Regions from separate parts of the Homo sapiens genome. Here region 2 is linked to region 1. Evidence: promoter capture Hi-C in human tissues and cell types (Jung and others, 2019). All regions are on one chromosome and are shown on one strand. Each heading gives the region's core, a stretch centred on a gene start or on the middle of the fragment in contact. The rest is flanking DNA. Distances are from core to core; before and after follow the strand shown. Region 1 holds the start of ARID5B (AT-rich interaction domain 5B). Region 2 overlaps ZNF365 (zinc finger protein 365).

Region 1 (5,556 bases), core at 1,814-4,313:
TTAATATGGCTGAATAATTCACAATGACATCAGCCAAAGTCCTAATGAAATATACAAGTATAATCATACAGCTAATTACCAGCCGTGTTAGCATTAAAAAACAAATCATGCATAATATTAGACGATGTATATGCAGCTGAGGATTATAAATAGAGCCATCTCCCTCCGCAAACCCCCTAGAGTTTACTTTTAAATGGCAAGATTAATTTTCTCAGGTATGGCTCATATAGCAGTGACGAAATGCACAGATCATTACAATGGTTCCCTTTCAATTCCCCATAATGAACAATTAAAAAGAAATCGTGTATTTAAAAATATATCTATTCACTGTCAACACTTCTAGCAGATGCAACGTTTGGCAAATATAGCCTTTATTCTTAAATCAGAATTCACCATTTAATTACACCAACAAAAATTAAAACTGTACCAAGTGGGGTCAACTCAGGGTCTTTAAAAAACATCCCAATTTCAATTCCCCGCCCCCCAAAAAAGAGTGACCACAAAATATCCCATAAAACACTGAATAATTTCCTCCTGGACTTAGTCAGAAGTCTGTTAAGCACCAGTTCTTTTCTGGATATTTAATCCTTCCCTTTTCCAGATCACAGGCCATGTTGAAGTAATAAATTTGAAAAGCAAATAATAAGAAATCAGGAGGGGGAGAGGGAGGGGGAGGAAGACAGCTGCGCAGGAAAGTTGGGTCGGGGGAGGGGGCCGAGCCAGACCTTGGGAGGGGGAAAGAGCTCAACCTGTTGGTAGGTTGCAGGATTTTTCACAGTATTTCCAAACAACACCTTTTTAAAATTGCAGGCGGACGTCGGGAAATATGAACATTTAAAAACCAAAGCTGGCCGGGGAGGGTGGAGGGGGGAGGTGAGCGGGGAGGTGGGAGGGGCTTATTTCCGAAAAGGCAGATTCGAGGGCGAACGTTTCGACGAACTCCAGTAATTAACCGGCATAGACCACTGACGAGTAATTCGATCCTGGGGAGAGGGAGTGAACTAGCAATGCCAAAAGTACTATCAACTCGATCAAACCGAGGAATTCTGGAAGGACTGGCAGCTCCGAGCCCCGGGATGAGTTAAACGGGAAACCATTCATTTAACAAAAAGATCCTTAGATCCTTACACCTACCTCGAAAGCTCGAGAGCCTGGCACAGCACTAGCTGCCCTCAAAAGTCTGTTTGATTACCCTGCTCTCGCTTTGGCAACACAAAGCCTCGCCAGGCGGCAGTGCGCCCTCCCTCCCCGCTGCGCCGTGGGCACAGACTCCCCAAAATAGTTCCCCTCGGTAGGTACCACGGCGCTGAGGTCGGTCAGCTGAGGAGGGGAGCCCGCAGAACTGCGGTCACACATGAAATGACAGAGCCGAAGGGAGGCGGCCGCCCCGGCGCCCAGTGACAGCGGGCTCACCTCCGGCGTCCTCCCGGGAGCGCGGCGAGCGCCCCCGCGGCCGCCCAGAAACGTGCCGGGGAGGCTCTGTCCCCTCCCCGCCCTCCCCGGGAGCGCCGTCTGGGCACGGAGAACGCTGGACCCGCAGGGCCAGTGGGCGAGCACACACCCCTCTGCCCTCCCCTCCCCCGCCCCCGTCCCACACACCCCCAAAGATCGCGCAGGAGGACGTCCACTTTGCGTGGAGTAATTGCAAACTAGAACATCAAATGGCTTGTCCGGGGGGAGGGGGAGTGGGCGAGAGATAGTTGTTAATGCTTAACGTGTTTGTGCCTGTTACACCACCGCTTTGAAATCCGCCCGGGCAGATCTGCAAGTTATTTGAATGTATTATTCCAGTACCTGTCATTTATCACTTTATTCAACACGTCTTTGCCAACTCAATAGCTTTTGATCTCATTCTGCCTCCATTTCGTAATTTCCGCCCTCTTAAACATATCAAATACTTACTTTGAAAAAAGAACAATATCGAAACCCACCGAAAGAAATCCACCCAGACACGACCGAGCCAGACACGAAGGTAAATTTTCAAAAGGCAAAAAATATAAAAAGCATGTGATGTTCAAGAGGCAATAGCAGGAGAGCAAATGAACACACACACACACATACACACACACACACACACACACACACACATCCTTGAACAAAACCCTTCTCGAACAAGTTATTTGATCTTGACTAAAATCAGCAGTTGGATCCTCTTTGTAAAGCTGACAGCCAAACTCTGACAATGGCAAAATACTCGAGCCCCAGCTAGTGGCGCTACCCCTTTAAAAAAGGAGTCGATCCTGCTTGCCTGCAGAAGTGAATACAGTATTTTCAAGCTTGCCCTGTAATAAGCATTACTAGGGGGAAAAATAATAAAGAAAGAAGAGGGGGACAGACAGGTTTACCACCTCGCCATGGTCGCTATTTCTGCCCTGGGGAGTGTCTTCTGGGAGGAAATAAAGTTTAGAGCTGGATAAAAGTTGCCGGCTGGTCCTCTCTTCCCACAACAGCTGGAGCTCCGCTATGCAAATCGGATCCTTTGGCGTACATCTTACAAAGAAAAAGTCGCCAAGGGACAAAATTCTTGGTTTGCCTTCAAGGTGGAATTGAAAAGCCTTGTAGAAAATGTAAGGTCCGTGCAAGCCACACGGTGAGCCGACCCACTGCAGGGGGGGAAAAAAACACCAAATAAATAATGTAGCCATCAGAGCACAAACATCTATTCCCAGACACATTTACACACAGACATCCACTCTCTTAATACAGACGACCCAACAGATATAACGCTGGGTGGAAAAATAATAGCACCCACAAATTTTCTGCTTCCCTAAAAAAAAAAAAAAAAAAACTCAGGGCCCCCCACCGCCACTTCTACCCACCTCCCCATTTGAGGCGGTAAAATTACATTATGTATGTATGATCAGTGCAGGGATTTTTTTAAACAATAAAAATGATTTTGGGGGATGCAGAGGGTAAAAGTTTGGTGAAAAGTTTGTGGGGGGTGTGGGTGGGTGCAGAGGTGTGGGTGAGCTGGGGGGTTGGGGGGTGCCGGGGGGTGCCGGGATCGGAGGAGCGGAGGAGAGCGAAATACCTGGAGTGAGTTGGGCTCCATCTCGACGTTCTGAATTGATTGAACTCAACATTCTCTCCAAACTTGTTGGCTTGAATGGATTGCATCAGGTCCTGGCAGGGAAACGCATTCTCTGCCTTCAGCCGGCGTAATGTCTCAATATAAAACTGAGCTCTTGCCTCCCTTCGGGCACCGAAATGATTGAAAATATGTCCTAATATTTCTATAACGACTCAATTTTCAGCTCCTGAAAAAACTATGTGGGTTTTCTTCCAAAGATGGATTGATCAAATTCATAATCGAGAGAAAGGCGCCATACGATCTCGGCGGGAAGAGGATGGATCAAGGCAAAAAACACACAAGAAGATTTGTAAAAATAAAAAGCACCCTAAAACTGTGTGGAGATGTGATTCCTCTCTCTCTAACCGCTCCTGTCTGGGATATCGTCTGATGAGATTTTTGGAGGAGAGGAGGGGTAGCGAGCTCCACTGTGCATCTGACAGGACCTGCTTGTATATGTCTAATATAAAGAACATTTCCTGCAGAGATTCCGGGGCGCTGCTCCTCTTTCTAATGCTTCTTAGCAGATTTGCTGTTATTAGACATGTAGATTTGTTTGATAGTTAAATTACGCTTCCTCACTGCCATGTTTTCGAGAACTAATCTGTTAAATTATCTTTTGATGCCTATTTACATGGAAGGGAAAAGTGGGTTATCGATTATATAAACATATAAATATTAATGCATTTGTTCGCTTCGCAAAAAAATACTCAGCAAAAAAAAAAGAGACAAGTGAGCAGTGCACACACATCTTAGGATTTCGCAAACAATATTGAACGGACAGCGACTGCATTTAGGGACTGGAACAATAAACGATGCATGATAAATCAATAAATGCGAGAAGCGAGTCTGCTCAGAATATGAATTCAGGCTCCCGGTTCTGCGTGTGCATTCTTTAATTTTGAAGTATATACACTAGTACGTGTTTACAATGCTGATGGACGCCAAGGGCGCTCTCAAATGATAATGTGTTTATATAACCCAGCGCTACAGGAATAATATACCGACTCCTACCCCACCCCCATCCCCTCCCCCGCCAAAAAAGGGAGGGGAGCTTCCTCAATAATAGTTTGAAACTGAAAAAATCCATTTGCAAACTAGTTAAATACAACCAGAAATTAAGCTGTTGAAAACCGGGGGCATGAACCGTAAGACAATAAAGGCTTTAAATGTGTATATTTATTGTTCTGGAGCCCTGGAGCATTGCGAGGTTTGCATGCACGGCTATTATGCAAACACAGAGAAACTTAAGAGCGACAGAACAAGGAACAGGCAGAGACTGCAAAGCCCTCGCAAGCTCCGACCCAGCTGCCGGTCCTCCGCCAGGCTAGATTGCATTTTCGCAGTGTTGATTTAAAATGGTGTACTCGCTTCCCCCACGTTCCCCCACCCCCTTCCCCGCTCTCCTCCCACTCCTTCCAGCACACCCCCCCTCCAGCTTTTATTATATTGGCACCAATCTTTCCAAAGTGGGTCTGGCATGCTAAAAAAGTAAACATGTACTATATGGGGAATAAGGTCTGTATAGTATGACAGTTGAAACTTGATCTGTGATAAAATTACAGGATGTTGAAATTACTAGTAAGCTATTTTTAACGCTTTCGCAACGTTTCACCTCTAGTCACAGCATCTAGTTGAAACAGGATTACTTTAATGAAAATTATATTCACATGGCTGAAGTTAATACACCCGGCAGAGCACAAATGCCTCATATTCAGTGACTTGAGGTGGAAAGACCCTCTGTGTGTATTTTTATGCCTTTTCATAACGTCTGCGTCCGCTGCAGTAAGAATTAGGGCACTTAACATTATCTAAACCACATTTTTGATTCAGAATATGGGGAAGTAATAAAAGGCAAAATCTATCTCGTTTCTATACACACAGAGATAAACGAAAGAAAATGGCAGATCCTCTAATTACAATAAATAATAAAAGCCCATGCCAAAGAGCCGGTATTCTGAAAGCTGTCGAAAACTATTTTAATAATTTAAAGTAATATCACAACTCTGCACCATGGAGGACTACAATTCGCAGTCTCCCATCTTTAACATTAGCCAAATTATGACTTGCACATCACTCTTTAATTATCTCTTGAAATTTCATCTGATCTTTCTATTTTATAAACATGGGTTACAAAGAGAAATTATAGCTCTCCTGCGCTTTCTCTCTCTCTTTTTAACTTTATAATGCATACTGCAGACGTTTGATTAGAATCGCCCATTTTGTTCATTTTTAACATATGAATGGACTTGACTGAGGGGCATTTTACATGTCTTTTTTAAAAATAGATATGCCTAAAGCTTCTGTTAGTCTCTGTCGTGTTAGCGTAAATATATACATCCAGTTCAAGAAATCCTATATTAAAAAAACTTGAGTTGCAGTATTTTGACAAGATCGTATTTGAGATCGACTCTGAGTCAGTTTCCTGTATGACCAATGCAGCAGCATTTATGCAGGAAACCTCAACAGAATGCCTGAGGGTATCC
Region 2 (5,556 bases), core at 1,612-4,111, 490 kb before region 1:
ATTCTTGGTCTTCCTAGGGCAACGTATCCTCCCTCCAACCCTCATACAGTTCCCTCACCACAGCCTGATCATGCCCCACTCATACACAGCTCTCGTCTGTAAATTTCTTGCTATATTCTAACTGTACTTTATTTGAATTAGTCAATTTTTCCTTCAGTAGAGCAAGTCCATGAAGGTTGATCATATCATATTTGGAATACAGAAGGTACAAACATAAATATTTATTAATTTCCCACCATTTGTGTATGTATATATGGATGTGTACATTTTTGTGCATGTATTTATGTGTGTATATGCATGCATGTACATGTATATGTACATTTGTGTGTGGCACACACATATACACAGTCATGTACTAAAAAACAATGTTTCAGTCAACGACAGACTGCATATACGAGGGTGTTCCCATAACATTATAACAAAGCTGAAAAGTTCCTATCACCAAGTGACACCATAGCTGTTATAATGTTGTAGCACAATGAATTGTTTGTGGTGATGCTGGTGTAAACAAATCTACTGTGCTGCCAGTCACATAGAAGTATAGCACATATAATCATGTACAGAGCATAATACCTGATAATGACAATAAACGACTAGGCTACCGGTTTGTGTATTTACTATACTATACTTTTAATCTTTCTATTTTAGACTGTACCTGTTCTATAAAAATAAAATGTTATCTGTAAAACAGCCTCAGGCAGGTCCTTCAGGAAGTATTCCAAAAGAAGGTGTTGTGACCATAGGAGATGACAGCTCAGTACGCGCTATAGCCTCTGAAGACCTTCCAGTGGGAAAAGATGCGAACAGGAATATTGATAATCCTGGCTCTGTGTGTATTTGTGTCTTAGATTTTAACCAAAAAAAAAAAAGCTTAACAGAAAAATTAAAAAATGTAAAAATAGAAAAAAAGCTTATTGAATAAAGCACATGAAGAGAATATTATTGTACTTCTCTGGTATAAAAATAAGCACATAGGGCCGGGTGCGGTGGCTCACGCCTGTAATCCCAGCACTTTGGGAGGCCGAGGCGGGCGGATCACCTGAGGTCAGGAGTTCCAGACCCGCCTGGTCAATGTGGTGAAACCCCGTCTCTATTAAAAATACAAAAAATTAGCTGGGTGTGGTGGCAGGTGCCTGTAATCCCAGCTACTCAGGAGGCTGAGGCAGGAGAATCACTTGAACCCGAGAGGTGGAGGTTGCAGTGAGCCGAGATCACGCCACTGCACTCTAGCCTGGCAACAGAGCAAGACTCCGTCTCAAAAACAAACAAACAAACAAACAAACAAACAAACAAACAAACAAACGGCACATAGACCAATGGAACAGAATAGAGAACACAGAAATAAAGCCAAATACTTAACAACCAACTGATCTTCGACAAGGCAAACAGAAACATAAAGTGGGGAAAGGCCACCCTATTCAACAAATGGTGCTGGCATAATTGGCAAGCCACGTGTAGAAGAATGAAACTGGATCTTCATCTCTCACCTTATACTAAAATCAACTCAAGATGGATCGAGGTCTTAAATCTAAGACCTGAAACCATACAAATTCTAGAAGATAACATCAGAAAAGCCCTTCTAGACAATGGCTTAGGCAAAGACTTCATGACCAAGAACCCAAAAGCAAATGCAACAAAAACAAAGATAAATAGATGAGACTTAAACTTAAGTCTGCACAGCAAAAGAAATAATCAGCAGAGTATACAGACAACCCACAGAGTGGGAGAAAATCTTCGTAATTTATACATCTGATAAAGGACTAATATCCAGAATCTACAAGGAACTCAAACAAATTAGCAAGAAAAAAACAATCCCATCAGAAGTAGACTAAGGACAGGAATAGATAGTTCTCAAAAGAAGATATACAAATGGCCAACAAACATATGAAAAAATGCTCGACATTACTAATGATCAGGGAAATGCAAATCAAAACCACAATGTGATACCACCTTGCTCCTGCAAGAATGGCCATAATGAAAAAGTTTTTAAATAGATGTTGGCAGAGATGTGGCGAAAAGGGAACGAACACTTTCATACAGCTGGTGGGAATGTAAACTAGTACAACCACTATGGAAAACAGTGTGGAGATTTCTTAAAGAACTAAAAGTAGAACTACCATTTGATCCAGTAATCCCACTACTGGGTATCTACCCAGAGGAAAAGAAGTCATTACATGAAAAAGATAATTGCATACACATTTACAGCAGGACAATTTGCAATTGAAAAAATACTGAACCAGCCCAAATGCCCATGCCCATTAATCAACGAGTGGATAAAGAAATTGTGGTTTATATATACCGTGGAATACCACTCAGCCATAAAAAGGAAAGAAAGAATGACATTCTCAGCAACGTGGATGGAACTGGAGACCGTTATTCTAAGTGAGGTAACTCAGGAATGGAAAACCAAACATTGTATGTTCTCACTCATAAGTGGGAGCTAAGCTATGAGAATGCAAAGGCTTAAGAATGATACAATGGACTTTGAGGACTCGGGGGAGGGGGTGGAGGAGGAAAGGATGAGAGGGGTGTGAGAGATAAAAGACTACAAACTGGGTACAGTGTACACTGCTTGGGTGATGGGTGCACCAAAATCTCAGTAATCACCACTAAAGAACTTATTCATGTAACCAAACACCACCTGTTCCCCCAAAACCAATGGAAATCAAAAATTAAAAATTTAAAAAACTTAAAAAAGAAAATATTATTGTACTTCTATATAATGTTTGTGTTTTAAGCTGTTATTACAAAAGAGTCAAAAGGTTAAAAAATAATTTAAAAGTCTATAAGGTAAAAAAGTTATAGTAAGCTAAGGTTAATTTATTATTGAGAGAAAAGTTTTAAACAAATTTAGTGTAGCCTAAGTGTACAGTGTTCATAAAGTCTACAGTAGTGTACAGTAATGTCACATTCACTCACCAGACACTCACTGACTCACCCAGAGCAAATTCCAATCCGGCAAGCTCCATTCATGGTAAATGCCCTATACAGCTATACTATTTCTTACCTTTTTTAAATATCATATTTTTACTGTACCTTCTCTTCTTCTCTATCTGTTTAGATACATAAATACTTATCATTGTGTTCCAATCACCTACAGTAGTCAGTACAGTAACATGCTGTACAGGTTTATAGCCTGGGAGTAATAGGCCATATACCATATACCCTAGGCATGTGGTGGGCTATACCATGTAGGTTTGTGTAAATACACTCTATGATGTTCATACAATGACAAAATTGCCCAACCACACATTTCTCAGAATGTGTCACATTGTAAAGCGACACAACTGGATATAATTTTGCATGTACATATCTAACTAGAAGAGCCAAAATGCTACCCAACTTTTGATTACATTATTTGGCATGATGAGAAATAATGACTGGCTATGTCTCTTTAAAAAATGTTCAACTTTCAAGCCAAAAAAATAAACTAAGCAAAAAAGGTGAGCAAAAACAATTTTAAAAGAGAGAATGAATGGGCTTCCTTACTTCCTCCTTGCCTTCCATTGTTTTCTCTCTTTGAGATTCCTCTTGGCTGAGTATCGGAAGATTTCATACATTTCTTAGCTCTGGATGACTTATAATTCTAAATATGAAAGTGTCAATGTTACATTTTAATTTTAGAATTCCTAACCATCAAAGTCAGGTGATGCTCACACAAGTTAAGAGGCCAAAACAACCTGGAAAGCACTGAATCCAACCCCTTCATTTTACAGAAGAAATATAGGCCCAGGAAGACTAACTATCTTGCCCAGTCAGAAGCAGAGTAAGAATAAACCGGAAGCCAGGCATTTTCAGGCCTTTTCACCTCACATCTGGGCACCATAACCTCATGCCCCAACCCTCTCTTAAGAGGGCAGGATGAAAGAAGACGGCAGAAAGAGGCTCAGATAGTCCCTCCAGCCACAGCTAGTCAAGGCTGGACACGCTCATGGTTTCCCAAGGAGGAGATGGAGAGGGATCAAAGTGTGGTGTGACTTCCCCCTCAGAAGCATTTTACGTAGAAGACCACAGACATCCACCCAGAAAATAATAAATATGTTACATGGATGAGACTTCTTTGAATATAGCACCTGAAACCTCACAGATGTAACACACTTCCTTCCAGTCTCTTTTTGTTCTGGAAAGTTCTGGGGCTTATATCACTGAGCTGCGCTAAGGCCAAGTGTACATGATTACAACAAGCACCATGTAGGATTTCTTCATTTCTTTCCGTCCTTCCTCCCTTCCTCTCTGCTGTTCCTTCTTTTATCCACCTGCCTTTCATTTCATTCCTTCATCTGGACAATTAGTTTTCTTATTTAATCATGTTGCCTTTTCACCCTGGCTTCCAGAAAGCTCTAAGTAAACTTTTAAATCAACCAATAGCAACCTTGCTAATCTTTTGATCGGCATAAATGTTGCCTATTTTCTTTTCCTTATAATAGAGCCCATTTGCTGCGGGGGTGGAAGCAGTAAAAAAAAAAACAAAACTATTTTTAAATCTGCTAGGAAGGAGGTAAGCATAAATAAAGTTCAATAAGTAATGAAAATGTTATAAATAAACCGCTTTGGGGTATCCAAAATATTTCCTTGGTTTTGTTGTAGGAAACCGTAGACAGGGCAAATATGACCACCCACCCCCGCCCCCCATCGACCTAGAGTATGGTTATTTGTACCTCCCTCCGCCCTCCAACGAGACCAAGGGAATCCTGATCAAGCCCCCTATGAGAACCTGGATCTTTATCCACATCCAGGGATCTCATCTGGGCTTTAGGCGTTTCTTAAACTCCTGAAACTATATGCAAAACTGTATGCAGGAATCTACCCTAGAACTATCACTTGTGAATCTTTCAGTCTTTTTGAAAATCTATATGAAGAATTTTAACTTATAGAGACTGTTGAACAGTGCTTGCCCCCCATTAAGGAAAAAAATGTGTATGTGGTTTGATCTTACTTTACTGAATTTCGTAAGATTCTCTTGAAGACCTCCAAAACATGATAATAACTTCTGAGCTACTTGAACATCAAAATTGAAATGAATGATTTCTTTGGATACTTCAAACTCTTCTATTTTACAAATTTAAAATATATATATTTCTACCAACTCAGCATGATGTGGAGTGGGAGGGTGAAGAGCGACTGAAAACGGCACATGCAGCATTTACCTTACTTCCAGGCGTCCTGGACTCCCCAGTAACATTTCCACAATACAGGCATGGCCCAGGCAGTGCTCTCAAATGATGTCTAGAGAGTCCCTGCAAGTCACCCAGCTCCCTTTTCTCTGTCCTCAGCCCATTCTCACCAACCACAGGGATCTTACACTCGGTGGCTGGCCCGGGGTGACTCACCACGTGCCCGCTGAGATCACGGACAAAGCCAGAGGCCTGCTGGCTCTGATAGTACTCAAGCTGCTTCTCCGCCAGTTCTACCCGCTGTAACAGATTCTCAATAAAGTCCTGGAGCCGGGCTTTCCCTTGAACCTCCTTCTCAGCTGCCGCTTCCAGGAAATGGTTGAATGTGACAACTTCTCTGCAAGGCAAAAATGTCAGAACACAAAAGGGAAATATAAGGCAA

What was found. The method cuts DNA at HindIII sites, captures the fragments that hold promoters and counts their contacts. A contact is called where the count stands out against the background at its distance.
Region 2: a fragment that was not itself captured here is called in contact with the fragment with the promoter of ARID5B in region 1 in 1 of the 25 tissues and cell types used here (dorsolateral prefrontal cortex).

Annotation. Positions count from the first base shown.
Region 1 is chr10:61,899,206-61,904,761 of GRCh38, reverse strand. It overlaps ARID5B (AT-rich interaction domain 5B), which reads right to left and starts at 3,063. Exons shown (of 10, transcript NM_032199.3): 1 at 3,032-3,063; 2 at 2,349-2,603. The coding sequence starts at 3,052. RefSeq lists silencers at 1,312-1,631, 4,372-4,541 and an enhancer at 2,871-3,373. The HindIII fragment of the contact is 5,601 bases long and covers 268-5,556 here.
Region 2 is chr10:62,388,351-62,393,906 of GRCh38, reverse strand. ZNF365 (zinc finger protein 365) reads right to left here. Exons shown (of 5, transcript NM_014951.3): 3 at 5,331-5,511. Among named protein-coding and RNA genes, the nearest start is that of ZNF365, 17 kb to the right of the region's middle. The HindIII fragment of the contact is 3,941 bases long and covers 891-4,831 here.